2 separate regions of the Homo sapiens genome follow, and region 2 is linked to region 1. Evidence: promoter capture Hi-C in 16 types of primary human blood cells and fetal thymus (Javierre and others, 2016). All regions are on one chromosome and are shown on one strand. Each heading gives the region's core, a stretch centred on a gene start or on the middle of the fragment in contact. The rest is flanking DNA. Distances are from core to core; before and after follow the strand shown.

Region 1 (6,769 bases), core at 3,127-5,626:
TGGCTGTGTGATCTTAGGGAAGTCACTTAGCCTCTCTGAGCCATGTTTTCTTGCCTGAAATAATCACAGCAGTGTGAGGACTTAGATGAGCTAACAGGCTATTTGCTGGGATTAGTGACCTCATCCCGCAGGTGACAGGCCCCCAGCCAGGTGAAGGAAGACAGCTCTTGCATCACCCCCAACCCCCACCCCCACCGGCCAGTCCTCCTCATAGTCTAAACCGGATCTTCCATCTGTCTCTCACCAGGGCCTGTGCTACTGGTCAGTGTGCCCTGCTTGCCATGGGGCCAGCCCCAAGGGCCCTCCTCTGCATGGTTCTGCCTGGCACAGAGCCCCCTCCTCCTGGGCACTGGACGTCACTACAGCCCTTCCTTCTGTGGCCTCAGCTAGTAGCAGCTCTTCCGCAGCAGGGTGCAACAGCACTGACTTGTTCAGAGCTCAGGGGTACCGGAAAACCCAAGCTGGTGAGCTGGGGTTTGGTCTTGTTACACATGAGCTGGTGAGCTGGCCTCTCGGGCCATCACTGGCGTGCAGGATCTTTTGAACCCAACCCAGGGGCCTGACACGTATCCTTGCTAAATGTCATTATTTTGGATTGGGACCAAGAGCCACAGCAGTGAGGGTAACACAAAGCCTGAGTGGAGTGGTGCCCACGGATGTCACTCTCCCTCCCAGCTGGCCATCGGCCATGGCACTGCCATCTCTCCCATCTTCATCACATCCCCAGCAAAACTTCTGAGCAGGGAAGAGCTAAAGGGTGGACAGGGTGAGCCTGCCACTCCAGCCCTCCCGCCTCCCCCAGGATCTGCACATCTCTGCTACAGAAATGCTCACGAAAATCAAGCAGTTGCCAGAAACCACGCCTCCGAAAGACAGATGCCCTTCAGGGATGGGGCCCGAGACAACTGCTGGGCAGGCTCCAGCTTTCTCACAGGGCCTTCCTTTTGCCTGCCACCAAATTTCTCTCTCTCTCTTTTTTTTTTTTTTTGAGACAGAGTCTTGCTCTGTCACCCAGACTGGAGTGCAGTGGTGCGATCTCGGCTCACTGCAAGCTCCACCTCCCGGGTTCATGCCATCCTCCTGCCTCGGCCTCCCAAGTAGCTGGGACTACAGGCGCCCACCACCATGCCCGGCTAATTTTTTGTATTTTTTAGTACAGATAGGGTTTCACCGTGTTAGCCAGGATGGTCTCGATCTCCTGACCTCATGATCTGCCCACCTCGGCCTCCCAAAGTGCTGGGATTACAGGCGTCAGCCACCACACCCAGCTATCTCTCTCTTTTTTTTTAATCCAAAGCCTAATGTCTTACAGACATATGGGCCTTCTTGTATCTCTAGTTCTCTCTAAGGAATCCAGAGAGCGGGGAAGTGCAAGAGGCTACCAGGAACATTCAGGAAAGTTCCTCTTCTCCCCAGGGTGGCACTGAAAGGATCCCTCCAGGGAACCCACTAAACCAACTTTAGTGTAGAAACATCAATTGGCCCGTGTGTGCTGAGCCCCTTCCCTGCAGCAGGCGCTGGATGGTGGAATGTCCCTATGGGTGAGACATGGTCCCTGCCCTCCAGGAACTTAGAGTCAAATCTGCAGAATGAGCATGCTGCTGTTAGCACCTCCAACCTCCTTTTTTCTAAATATATTTCTCTTTCCAACCTTCTCTCCCTACTTCCCTCAAACTCCCCAGCCTCCCCGTCAAGATCTTCTCTTAGCTAAGCATCTAGAGCTCATTCACAGGAAGGTATGAGGGACTGATCATAGCTGAAAGGGTTCTCATTCCCAAGAGAGATGTAGTTTAACCACAATCAGAGCCTTAAGCTAAAGTGCCAGGTGGTAGAATTTCAGGCCAAGAAGACAAGAGTTTTGGCAAGGAAGGGAATATTGCTCTCATGGTGGCGCCCTTGAAATCTTCCCATGTGTACGGTTCCCTAGTACAGTGACACAGAAGTGACAGAAGTGACAGAACTGACAGCCCAGAGACATGTTTGAGTCTGGCAAGGGATCGATCCTAGCCATGCCATGCCATGCCTCAGCTGCCACCACCAATCAGGGATGTCAGATCTCAACCACAAAGGACACTGACATGCTTGTCGCTCCCCTTGCACGGCCTCTGTCTGCTCACCTCTGCCCACACCTCCAGGTCCTAGAGGTTCCTTGCCCTCTGGGGAGCCCCAAACCTCCTACTACCCCTGCCTCCCAGTAATGAGCTCTAGATCTGTGCTGCCCAGTATAGGAGCCGCCAGTCATACACGACTATTGGGTACCAGAAACATCTCTCACCCAAACGGAGTTTGCTATCAGTGTAAAATTTCATGCCACACTGCACATTGAAGACAACAGGGAAAAAGAATGTAAAAAATCTCGTAAACACTTGTATCTTGATTACATGTTGAAATAATAACATTTGGGGTATGTTTAGTCAAAGAAAATATACTATTAAAATTAACGTCACCTGTTTCTATTTGTTTTAATGTGGTTACTAGAAAATTTTAAATTGTACTTGTGGCTCCCATTTTATTTCTTTGGACAGTGTGACCCTGGATGAAGGGCCCAGGCTCTCCCTCAACTGCAAAGGGGCAGAATAAGCAGTCTGCCATTAGCATCTCCAACCTCCTTTTTCTAAATGTATTTCTCTTTCCAACTCCCTACTCCCCTCAAGCTTCCACCCTCCCCAGTCAAGACCTTTTCTTAGCCAAGGACCTAGAGCTCATTCACATGAAGGAATAAGGGTCTGGTAATAGCTGAAAATGTTCTCATTCCCACTCTCTCCAATAGGAAGACATCCTCATGGGCTGGGGACACCAGAGACTCTCTCCAAAGGGAAGGTGTCCTGCTGGGTTGGGGGTTGGGGGTCGGGGGGTGGGGGAGTTGAGGCAGGTTGTACCTCTAATCAAGGGGCCTAAAATGGGGGAGGGATCCCAGAATACCTCCAGAGCCAGGGGCCAAAACTAGGTAAGTCCCTGGGCTCCAAATAGCAAGGGGCAGACTCAAGGAGCTTCCGAATTCTGTCTCATCACCCCGTCTAACCCAGCCACCCTACAGAGGTAGGAGGGACAAACTCCACTTTCCCCCGCCACAATCTCCTCCCTTGCCTCCCCCTCCCCACCTCCCACCTACCCACCCCCGCCAGCCCCACTGCACTGCTGAAGCCTTCCTCCAGCCACTGCTCCCTCCTCACACAGGACAGCTACACCCTGGTGCCCACAAATGAAGTCCAGACAGCTTAGTCCCATAGACAGAGCCCTCTGCACCCTGACCGCAACCAACCGTCCTCCCATCCCTGGAACCCACAGCTCTGCCAGTCTGCTGGCCAAACAGCCCCATTCTGCCCTCATCTCCAGGCCTCGTTCCAGCATCCCCCAGGCTGGAATGTCCTCATCCCAACAGAAGTCTACTCTCCTTCAGGGCCCAGCTGAAATCCCTCTCCCACAGGCACCTGCCTTGATGCCTCAGGCTCTAGGCGCAGGGACTGCGGCCAGGCTGGGGCACCTGCCCTTCTTCCCCCTGCCCTGGCTTCCCCTCCTGGGTGGGGAGCTCTGTGTAGTGGTCCCCTCCACCCCTCCATTCTGCCCTGCGGCAGGTGTGTGTGCACTCATTAACACCCTGCCCCACACTGGACTGCGGGCTCCTTGAGGGCAGACACATTGTCTCAGAGACCTCTGCCCACCCACCCACTCAGGGTCTCACCCCTTCCACAAACAGCCCTTAAACTAATGTTTGACAAACACAGAGATCCCCAAAGAGCCCCAGAGAGGATGGCAGTGGTCAGTCCTGCAGGACACAGCAGCATCTAGAAGGGTCTGAGCACCTTCCCAGGCTGGGGGCCTTCTCCTTCCCGGGTCCTCACAGCTCAGCCAGACCCCCTGGCACGGACCTGCACACACATGCACACTCCCGCACTCATACCCGCTCACATCTGAGATACCGATGGCTCTCCCTCTCCCAGGCTAGGAAACTCTGTCGCAGGAGTCCTCCCCACCCACCAGCAGAACCCCCGGACCCCCTGCCCTTCCGGTGAGCCGCCCCTCCTTTGCCGTCGGGTTTCCCTCCCTCCCTTTTGCCCAGCCAAAACCCGAACCCAGGCGCCAGGGGAGAGGACCGCCGTTCTAGCTTGCCCCACTGCTGGGGGCACGGAGTTCTTGCTCCTCCAAGGCTACGGCCCCCGTCTCCGCGGACCCCGCCCGGACTCCCCCTGGCCACCGGGACGCCCCGCCCCCTCCCCTCCGCAGCAATCTCTTACACTCGGGCTGTGAAGTTCGGGGTATTTTTAGGCCGGCGATAAATAATTCATAGGGAACGTGGCATCAGGCTCCCCCCGCGGGAGGAGGGGGCGCGAGCAGCGAGAGCCACCGTCACCCGCGGCTCAAGGACACTCGCGATGCGGCGGCGGCGGCGGCGGCGGCGGCTCCGGGCGGGGACCCGCGCCACGCCTCCTGGCGGCCAAGCTGAGCACCACGCACCCGGCGCCCCCCGCCCCACGCTGCCCCCCGCCGGCGTCCGCGGCTCCGGGGCCCCCACCCCCACTCCCCCAAGCTGGGTCGTGACCCCGAGTCCCGCAGTGGGGGGACCAAGCCAGCCTGGCAGGCGGCCCCAGTACCATCCCAGGCCCGCCCGGGGGCCCTGGGCGAACCCAGGTGTCCCGGACCTGCCTACCTGCCCCTGGCACGCTCTTATTCTTCGGGAGTTTAGAAACAGGCTCAAAGTCACTAGCACCGCCAAGACCTGGACGGGCTCTGAAATACAGCCAGCGGAATGGTACCCTCCCCAAATAAGTGTCTTTCCTCGATTTTCCTGTGGCCCGGGGTCAGGGACTGAACTAAGATAACGCCACCATCCGAGGGCTGGGGGACCGAGCCAGAAGTCCCCTTGGACGACCAGGGCTGGGAAACCGAGTGGACGAATGGGGTGGGCATCAGGGCCTGGCGGGAATTCCCGTCTTGCTCACCCAGCAGCTCCTTGCAGGGTCGCGGGACGCACCTGGGGGTTCAGGTTGCCGGGTGCCTTTGCTCCGCGTGTCCCCGCCCTGCCCGCGTAGGCAGGAAACAGGAGACTCGGGGCTTCCCCTCCCCGCCGTCGGGGATCCTGGGCGAAGCCCCCAGAGACCGGCGCAGGCGGCTGGTGCGCAGCCAGGGCCCAGCGCCAGGTCTTGCTCGCCCAGTGCCCTCTCTGCCTACCCTTCCCTTTGCGCTCTGGAAGCCCGGGAGCCGGGCACGGGCCAGCATCTGCAAGATGCCACTACTCTGGAAGCCCACTCCGATTCTCCCAGGTCGCAGGAAGGAGAGAGCTAGGCTGGGGCAAAGGAGATGGGGCAGAGCTGGAAGGGGAAGAAGCGGGACTCGCGGCGGGGGAAGGGGTCTGGGCGCCGAGGCGAGTGCGCAGCAGGTGCCCAGCAGACCTAGGGAAACTGGGGCACTGGGCTGGGGAGCCGCACAGCCCCCTTTCACCTTCTCGACTCCTTTCCAACCCCTCGCTCTGGTGGATCCCAGCCCCGGCCCCCACTCCCGGCCCTGTTCCCCGCTCTCCGCCCCGGCGGCTTCCAGCAGCAACAGTTTGGGTCCGCGGCAGCCCAGACTCCCCTGGTCCCGCGGTGCTGCCGCGCCAAGCGAAGGAGGAGGAGGGCTCGGCGACCCTGGGGACGAACGTCTTGGACGCTTCGCCCGCGTCCTTCTCTCGCGTCCGCCGCGCGCCTGTCTGCTCGGCCTCTTCTTCGCCTTCTCTCCGGCCGCCCGGGTCAAAACCCAAGGCCAGGTTCTTGAGGGTCCGGGTCCTCCAGCCGCCCCCTCCTTGAGCCCCGAGAGTCCTGCGTGGGTCCAACCCCCCGGGTGTCCCGCCTCTGTCTCCGCCGTCCTTGCTCGCGCGCCGCGGGAACCCAGCCCCAAGTTGGCGGCGAAGTTGGTGCCCCTCGCCCGCCGCTCGCCACTTACCGAGGGGAAGGGGCGCTGCGCCCGCGACGAGAGCCCGCGCCGGCCGCCTCCCTCGCGGTGTCTGTCCCAGAGCCTCGGCCCCGGAGGGCTGGCGCGCTCAGTCTCAGCTCCGCGGGCGCCGGAGCCCGGGCGCGGCGGGGCGGGGGCGGGGGCGGGTGGCGCGGCCTGGTCCGCTGGCCCCGACCCGCCCCTGCGCCCCGCGACCCTCCCGAAGCTCGCACGGCGCCCGGCTCCGTCCCGGGCTGGGCTGCGCACCGCGCCTCCTGCTCCCAGAGCTCGCAGCCGACTGTGCGGGAGCTCTCACCGCCGCCCGCGAGGGCCCGCCCCGCCGGGGCCCGCCACCTCCGCCCCGGCCCGGCCCGGCCCGCTGCCCCTCGAGGCCCCTCCCGCCGCATTCCCGGGCCCCTCTCCCCTCTCCGGAACCGCGTCCCCAGACCTGACACTCGGGGCAAGTGCGCCTCGGAGGACACACCAGCCTGCCCGGAGCCTGGGTTTGAGCCCGCAGCTCACGAGTGTGTGACCTTGGGCCAATTTCGAGGACCCCTCAGGTTATACAGCGAGGCAGCATCTTGAGGGCTGCCATAAAAGGGAGTGACCACTCTCTGGACACTGCAAAGCCCTAGGGAGACTGAGGCACTATTTTTAAAGGCCAGTGTGTCTGACTGGAAACGGAAGCAGGAAGGCTTTGAGAGCCAAAGAATGGGCCCCAGGCTAGACTCGCCTGGGGCACCCAGAGGTACAGGGGACAAGCTGCTTCTCAGTCCCCCGCTCCCATTTCTTTTCTGTTTTGATTGTACTGAGGGCTCCCCAGGGAGGGGTGGTCCCGGTCCCGGTCCCGGGCAGCCCTAGT
Region 2 (6,364 bases), core at 2,985-5,484, 190 kb before region 1:
GTACACGCTGGGCACTGTTCTAGGCTTTTTACATGAATTAACTCATTAAATACTCAGAACAAAACCATGAGGCAGGTACTATTATAATATTATCTCCATTTTGTGGACACTTAGGAAAGATTAATTTGCCCGAGTTTGCACGACTAATAATTTTCAGAATCGAGATTTGAATCCTGGAGCCTGTGCTCCTAACCAAACCACCATCTGCCTCTCCTGAGCCCATTGTCCTTAACTTCTTGCGGTCATGTGTGCTGGAGAGAATGTGATCAAAGCCCTGGACCTTCTCCCTAGGAAAACGCAGGTAAACAGAATTTTGCATATTTCAGGGACTTTGGGGACACCTAAGACCCATCTACTGTCGACCTCAGACTTAGAAGCTCTATTTATCTCATACATCCTGGAGAGAATTGTCCAGGGACAAAAACAGAAGCGCCGCCAGCGCCGCAGGACTTCGCCTCTGCAAACGTGTGAGGAGAGCTGCGCTGCGCTGAGCTGCGTGGTGACGGAGATGCCCGTTCGCTCGGGATCAGGAACGGTGAGCTCCTGGGACCGCAATGCCCTGAGAACGCAGCCGGGTGCTGAGCCTCCGGAGTCCGGTAGCTGAATGAAATACGCAGGGATCACCAGCCGGACCCAAATCTTGCGTCCCTGCCAGCATCCTGGAGTCCTAAGAGGCAGGGATTGGAGCGGACAGGATCTCAGAACTCTGGTCCCGGGCGCACAACGGCGGAGTCGCTGTTCCTGGTGCTGAAACGCTCAGTCCTGGAAGAACGTGGCCGCCTGCCCGCCTGGTACCGCGCCGCGGCCGCTGCGGGGAACTGTCCAGTGCTGAAAACGGATGCGGCCCGGCCCGCAGAGCTCAGACCCAAGCCTGCCGCACCCAGCGGAGCTCGAACCGAGCTCCTGGAAGCGCTGACGCAGAGCGCAGGGAGAGCCGGAGCGGCGAGCTCCAAGCCTGGCATGGACCTGCAGAGACCCGATTCCTACCAGGGAGGAGCTGGCCCTGACTTCAACGACCACGTCCTGCATAAGGTAAACATCTCCTGTATTCCTCAACCTAACGTTGGAAGAGGCGCCAGCACCAGGAGTTTTCTCCACTCCCCTGACTTTGCTTTGGGACTTAATGAGAAACTAGCTTGTATCTGTGAGTCTGGGGAGCCCTTTCTGTCTGATCCTGTTTCCTGCTCAAAACAGAGATGCGTGAGCTCTTGGGGAAGGGCTGCCGCCAGAGGCTCAGATGGTCAGAAGCTTCATTCATTCACTTACATCATCTGTGTTCCTTTTTCACCCCCTCCTTCTCCTTGCCTATTTATGCCCCTGGGTGACCCCTGGCACCTTGCTCTCCTAACCCTTGTAGGAGACTGCATTTCTCCCTGTTACATCTGCTAGCAGTGGCCAAATACCTGAATTTCTGGCCAATTTGTCTGAAATTAGATAAATGGTCTGCAGCAGAGATGAACTGCTGTTTTCAAATCAGACTCCCTCATGGCTCCAGAAAGCTTCCCTCCAGCCATGATTCCCTCACAGCCCCTGTAAGCATTTGCTTATTTCAAAGCACTAACATATCCATTGCTTCCTTCACTCAAGTTTCTTATGCAACTCAGTTTTCAGTAATGCAGGTCTCCCCCTAAGATAGTTGTTGGGAAAAATAGTAGCCTCTCTCAGGATAACAGTTTTAATTCAAAATCCATCACTCTGAAATAATCAAAGTGTTATATTTGCCATAAGAAGTTATTATGGCTCACCTTCCTTTTCTCTGACTTTGCCATGCCTTCCTGCTCCAGCCCCTATATTTTCTGCTTTGATAATGCCAGTTCACCTGCTAGTCCTTTGAAAAGCTGTACGTGATCCTATAGGTGGAGTTTTTTAATCAAAACATCACTTTGAAGAGTCTATGAATGCAAGCTTTGAAATAACCTAACCCAACCTCCTCCTCTATCACCCAGCTTATATTTGAGGAAACTAAAATCCAGAGAGGAAAAATGACTTGTCCAAGAAAGCAAGCTGGTAAATGGCAGAGCTGATACTAAAAGCCAGAAATTACTACTACACGTGTAGTATTCTTTCCTCTATATCCTTACTAAACTTCTCATCAAAGTGTGCAGTCCATGGACCAGCAGCATTGGCATTACCTTGGAACTTATTACAATAGAAAGCCCTGACCCTAGATTGGCTGAATCTGAATCTGCATTTTAACAAGATCTCTAGGAATAAATATGCACAATAAAGTTTTAGGTGCATGGCTCTGTGCCATGCTGCCTGTTTCTGACACAAATGAAAGAAAATCAGCTATTGAAGGAAGCAGGTCTCTAGATCTGACAGTCCATGTGTCTTCTCCCTCCAGGTCTCTGAATTCCTAGGATATAGAGAAGGAGAAAAAATGTATAACAACTATCCCAGTCTAGAAATTTTAAAGCCATCACAGTTTGAAGTAAACTAGAAGAAATTCTGTGCTATTTGATGTTGTCAATTTAGCCCAGTAAAAACTGCATGCAAGGCCAGGCATGGTGGCTCACACCTGTAATCTCAGCACTTTGGGAGGCCGAGGCGGTGGACCGCTTGAGGTCAAGGGTTCAAGACCAGCCTGGCCAACATGGTAAAATCTGTCTCTACTAAAAATACAAAAATTCGCTGGGCATGGTGGTGTGCGCCTGTGATCCCAGCTACTCAGGAGGCTGAGGCAGGAGAATTGCTTGAGCCTGGGAGGCAGAGACTGCAGTGAACCGAAATCACACCACTGCACTCCACTCTAGCCTGGGCAACAAAGCAAGACCTTGTCTCAAAAAAAAAAAGAAAAAAAAAGTTTATGCAAGCAGAGGAACATAATTACAAATCAATTACAAAATTTTCCTGGCAACTAGATATGTGGGTCTCTCCAAGTTTATACCATCCTATAAAGGTATAAATACTCATTTTGAAAGCTTTAAGATTGGGAGCTCAGATTGTTCAAAATATTGATCAGATGTGGTATTTTCCATTTCAATTACCCACACACGAGATGTAGGATGTAGTCCATGAAGACTGTTACTTCCTTTGAGTTTATTGATCACCAAATTGAGAGTGGGAACCCATTCCAACAAGTTCCAACATATTTAAAGGCAAGTATCTATTTACTACTAGTAAAGGCTCAATGTCATCAGCTTGGCTGTGTGAGCACCCTGAGAGCAGGAGCCAGCCTTAAACCTTCTGTGGTGCCCAGCAGAGTGACATATGTATGTAAGGAAAGTTTTCCTTCTTATATAGTGCTGACAACCTCCTCCTAATACTACTTTATGATTGTGCATGATGTTTTATTGTGATCCACTTAAAACTCTTTTTGTAAAGGGGTAGGGCATCAACTTATTTGTATTATATTAAAAATTACTATGTAGTAGAGTCCAAGGAGTTCCCATTGATTGATTAGTGTCTATTGTCCATGAGAAGCAGGGCTCCCCTCCAACATTAATTGCTAGGATAAATTCTTTTTTTGAAGTGGGGTCTCAGTCTGTCACCCAGGCTGGAATGCAGTGGTGTGATCTCAGCTCACTGCAACCTCTGCCTCCCAGGCAAGTGATTCTCCCACCTCAGCCTCCCCAGTAACTGGAACTGCAGGCATGTGCCACCATGCCTGGCTAATTTTTTGGCAGTTGTTGTTTTGTAGAGACAGAGTTTCACCATGTTGGCCAGGCTGGTCTTGAACTCCTGGCCTCAAGAGATCCACCCGCTCGGCCTCCCAAAGTGCTGGCATTATATGTATGAGCCACCATGCCCAGCGTGGGGAAATGATTTTTTAAATAGACTTGTTATTGACACATAACAAACACCACTTTGGGAAGCTGAGGCGGGCAGATCTCTTGAGGTCAGGAGTTCAAGACCAGCCTGGCCAACATGGCGAAACTTTGTCTCTACTAAAAATACAAAAATCAGCTAGGCGTGGTAACACACTCCTATAATCTCAGCTACTAGGGAGGCTGAGACAGGAGAATCACTTGAACCGAGGAGGTGGAGACTGCAGTGAGCCAAGATCACACCACTGCACTCCAGCTTCAGCAACAGAGCAAGACTCCATCTCAAAAAAACAAAAAGAAATATGACAAACACCAAAAAATCCTGAATCTTATGTGTCTACCTTGGTGAATTATCACAAAGTGAACATACCTGTGCAATCACTATCAAGAGAAAGAAATAGAACCTTGTCAGCTTCCCAAGAGGCCCCCTCCCACATTCCACTTGCCAAACACCCTCCCCCAGAGATTGTCATTATAGAGGAAGAAGCATCATCTTGTGTTTTGACAGCACAGCAGATGTTATGTAGGGTAGTCCTAGAAACTTGCCAGAGAAGAGATATTGTCGTATGATGAAACGAAACTCCAGGCTTGGAATAAGCCAAACCTTGATGTGACTTTGAGCAACATCTGTGAGTCTTAATTTTCTTAGCTATAAAATAGGAATGATAATACCTGCCTTATTATTTTTGAGCAAGGATGTTAGCGAATATAATGTAACGCGTATATATAAAATCTCTGGAATATAGGAAGCATTCAATAAAAGTGGTTGTATTGGCTGGGCGCAGTGGCTCCCAGCACTTTGGGAGGCCAAGGAGGATGAATCATGAGGTCAGGAGATCGAGACCATCCTGGCCAACATGGTGAAACCCCATTTCTACTAAAAATACAAAAATTAGCCGGGGGTGGTGGCATGCACCTGCAGTCCCAGCTACTCAGGAGGCTGAGGCAGGAGAATCGCTTTAACCTGGGAGGCAGAGGTTGCAGTGAACCAAGATCACACCACTGCACTTCAGCCTGGTGACAGAGTGAGACTCCATCCGAAAAAAAAAAAAAAGTGGTTGTATTAGGGCATGCATCTTGGGCTCCAAAGCAGCTTCAATGGGTGTCACATTCAGTCTCACCTAAAATGATGAGCTTTGTGAGAAGAGCAGCAGCTTCATACAAGAGAATCTCAGAAACACACACACTACCTATTTCACAGGCAGAAGTCCATGGAAATAAACTCACACAACCCATCTATACAAAAAGCGTGACTTCTATGCAAACATCCCAGTTCTGACTTCCTAAGTTGAGTATCTTTTTTCTCTTGGAGGTGGTGTATGGGACTTGATGAAATTCATTTATATGAAAAACATACGCCAAATATCATGATAGGCATTGTGTAGCTCTTGCACTTTAGCTGGTCCCAATAGTTGGAGGCTGACCCAGGCAAGCCCAAGTAACTCTTAGAAGATTCCCGTAGGGTGGGCTGGAAGCTGGGAACTGACTGAAAACATTGAGCTCATCCATCATGTGCCTGGAGTTTTTAAATAGAGTTGTTGTTGCCACAAATCTGAAAATTTGGTGCAGCTAAATAATTTAAAACAAAGGAGCAACCTGGCTGCTCTTTTCCTTAGAGAACTCTCAGTTCTCTCTTGCCACCAGCTTCAAGAGCCATCCAGGGCAATGGTCTGGGGTAGGGGTTCAGGAACAGCCCACGGATTGGGTCCCTACTGTGCCAGGGTCTGACCTTGAGCTCCCAGAAAATGAAAAGATTTTCATTTCATTTTCACAGAGAGGGCAAGCTTTTGCCCCAGATACCAGTGAATTAGGACAAAAGGGCTTCAGTTCAAGCACTTACTTCCTAATTCCCTATCACCAGGGCTCTAAGGAACATCCACATACCAGACTAGCTTCCAGAGGGACGAACAATTCCTAGGACAAAGTCAGTCTCAGAAAGACTGGGGGTGGGGGGCAGAAAAACGTGAGCTGCTCATCCATTCATCCAGGGCTTGGTTCTTCTTGGGTGAAAAGGGATTACCAGGTCTCTGTCTTCCAAAGTATGTCCATTTCCTCCGACTGCTCTAACACCTCTTCTGGGTGAAAGGAAAAGGCAAGCAGGTAATATCTGCCACTCTCCCCCATCTCCTGCACTTATTCTTCACTTCCTTCTTCTATTACCCATCTTGTAATTTCTGTGTCCCTCAAAAGTCCGCATGCCTCATCGATTCATTCAGCAAACATGCATTGGACATTTCCAAAGCGTAAAGAACTAGGCTGGTCATTGTCGAGAATATAGACGCAAATGATTCCCACCTTCACTAAGCCTGTGGCCTAGAAGGCATGCACACAAATGGCTATACTTTTATATAATTCCAGAAGTGTCCTAAGAAAGATACGGGTAGCTGCAAGGGAGTGACCCAGGAAGAAAAGGTCATGTCTGACTGAATTTGAAATGTCCTCTCTCACTTATGGCTTCTGATTAAAGTTAACCTCCAGGCTTGGCACGGTGGCTCACACCTGTAATCCCAGCACTTTGGGAGGCTGAGGCAGGTGGATCATGAGGTCAGGAATTCGAGACCAGCTTGGCCAACATGGTGAAACTCGTCTCTACTAAA

The links. Contacts are between HindIII fragments. The CHiCAGO score rates a contact against its expected background, and 5 or more counts as called.
Region 2: a contact is called between a fragment that was not itself captured here and the fragment with the promoter of GRIN2C in region 1, in 7 of 17 cell types (non-activated CD4 T cells, total CD4 T cells, total CD8 T cells and 4 more). The highest score is 6.9, in non-activated CD4 T cells.

What each region holds. Positions count from the first base shown.
Region 1 is chr17:74,855,509-74,862,277 of GRCh38, forward strand. GRIN2C (glutamate ionotropic receptor NMDA type subunit 2C) reads right to left here and starts at 4,377. Exons shown (of 13, transcript NM_000835.6): 1 at 4,236-4,377. RefSeq lists an enhancer at 5,204-5,902. The HindIII fragment of the contact is 5,318 bases long and covers 2,653-6,769 here.
Region 2 is chr17:74,670,627-74,676,990 of GRCh38, forward strand. It overlaps RAB37-AS1 (RAB37 antisense RNA 1), which reads right to left. Exons shown (of 2, transcript XR_007065904.1): 2 at 1-5,842. It also overlaps a transcript of RAB37 not described here. Among named protein-coding and RNA genes, the nearest start is that of RAB37-AS1, 3.8 kb to the right of the region's middle. The HindIII fragment of the contact is 2,630 bases long and covers 2,920-5,549 here.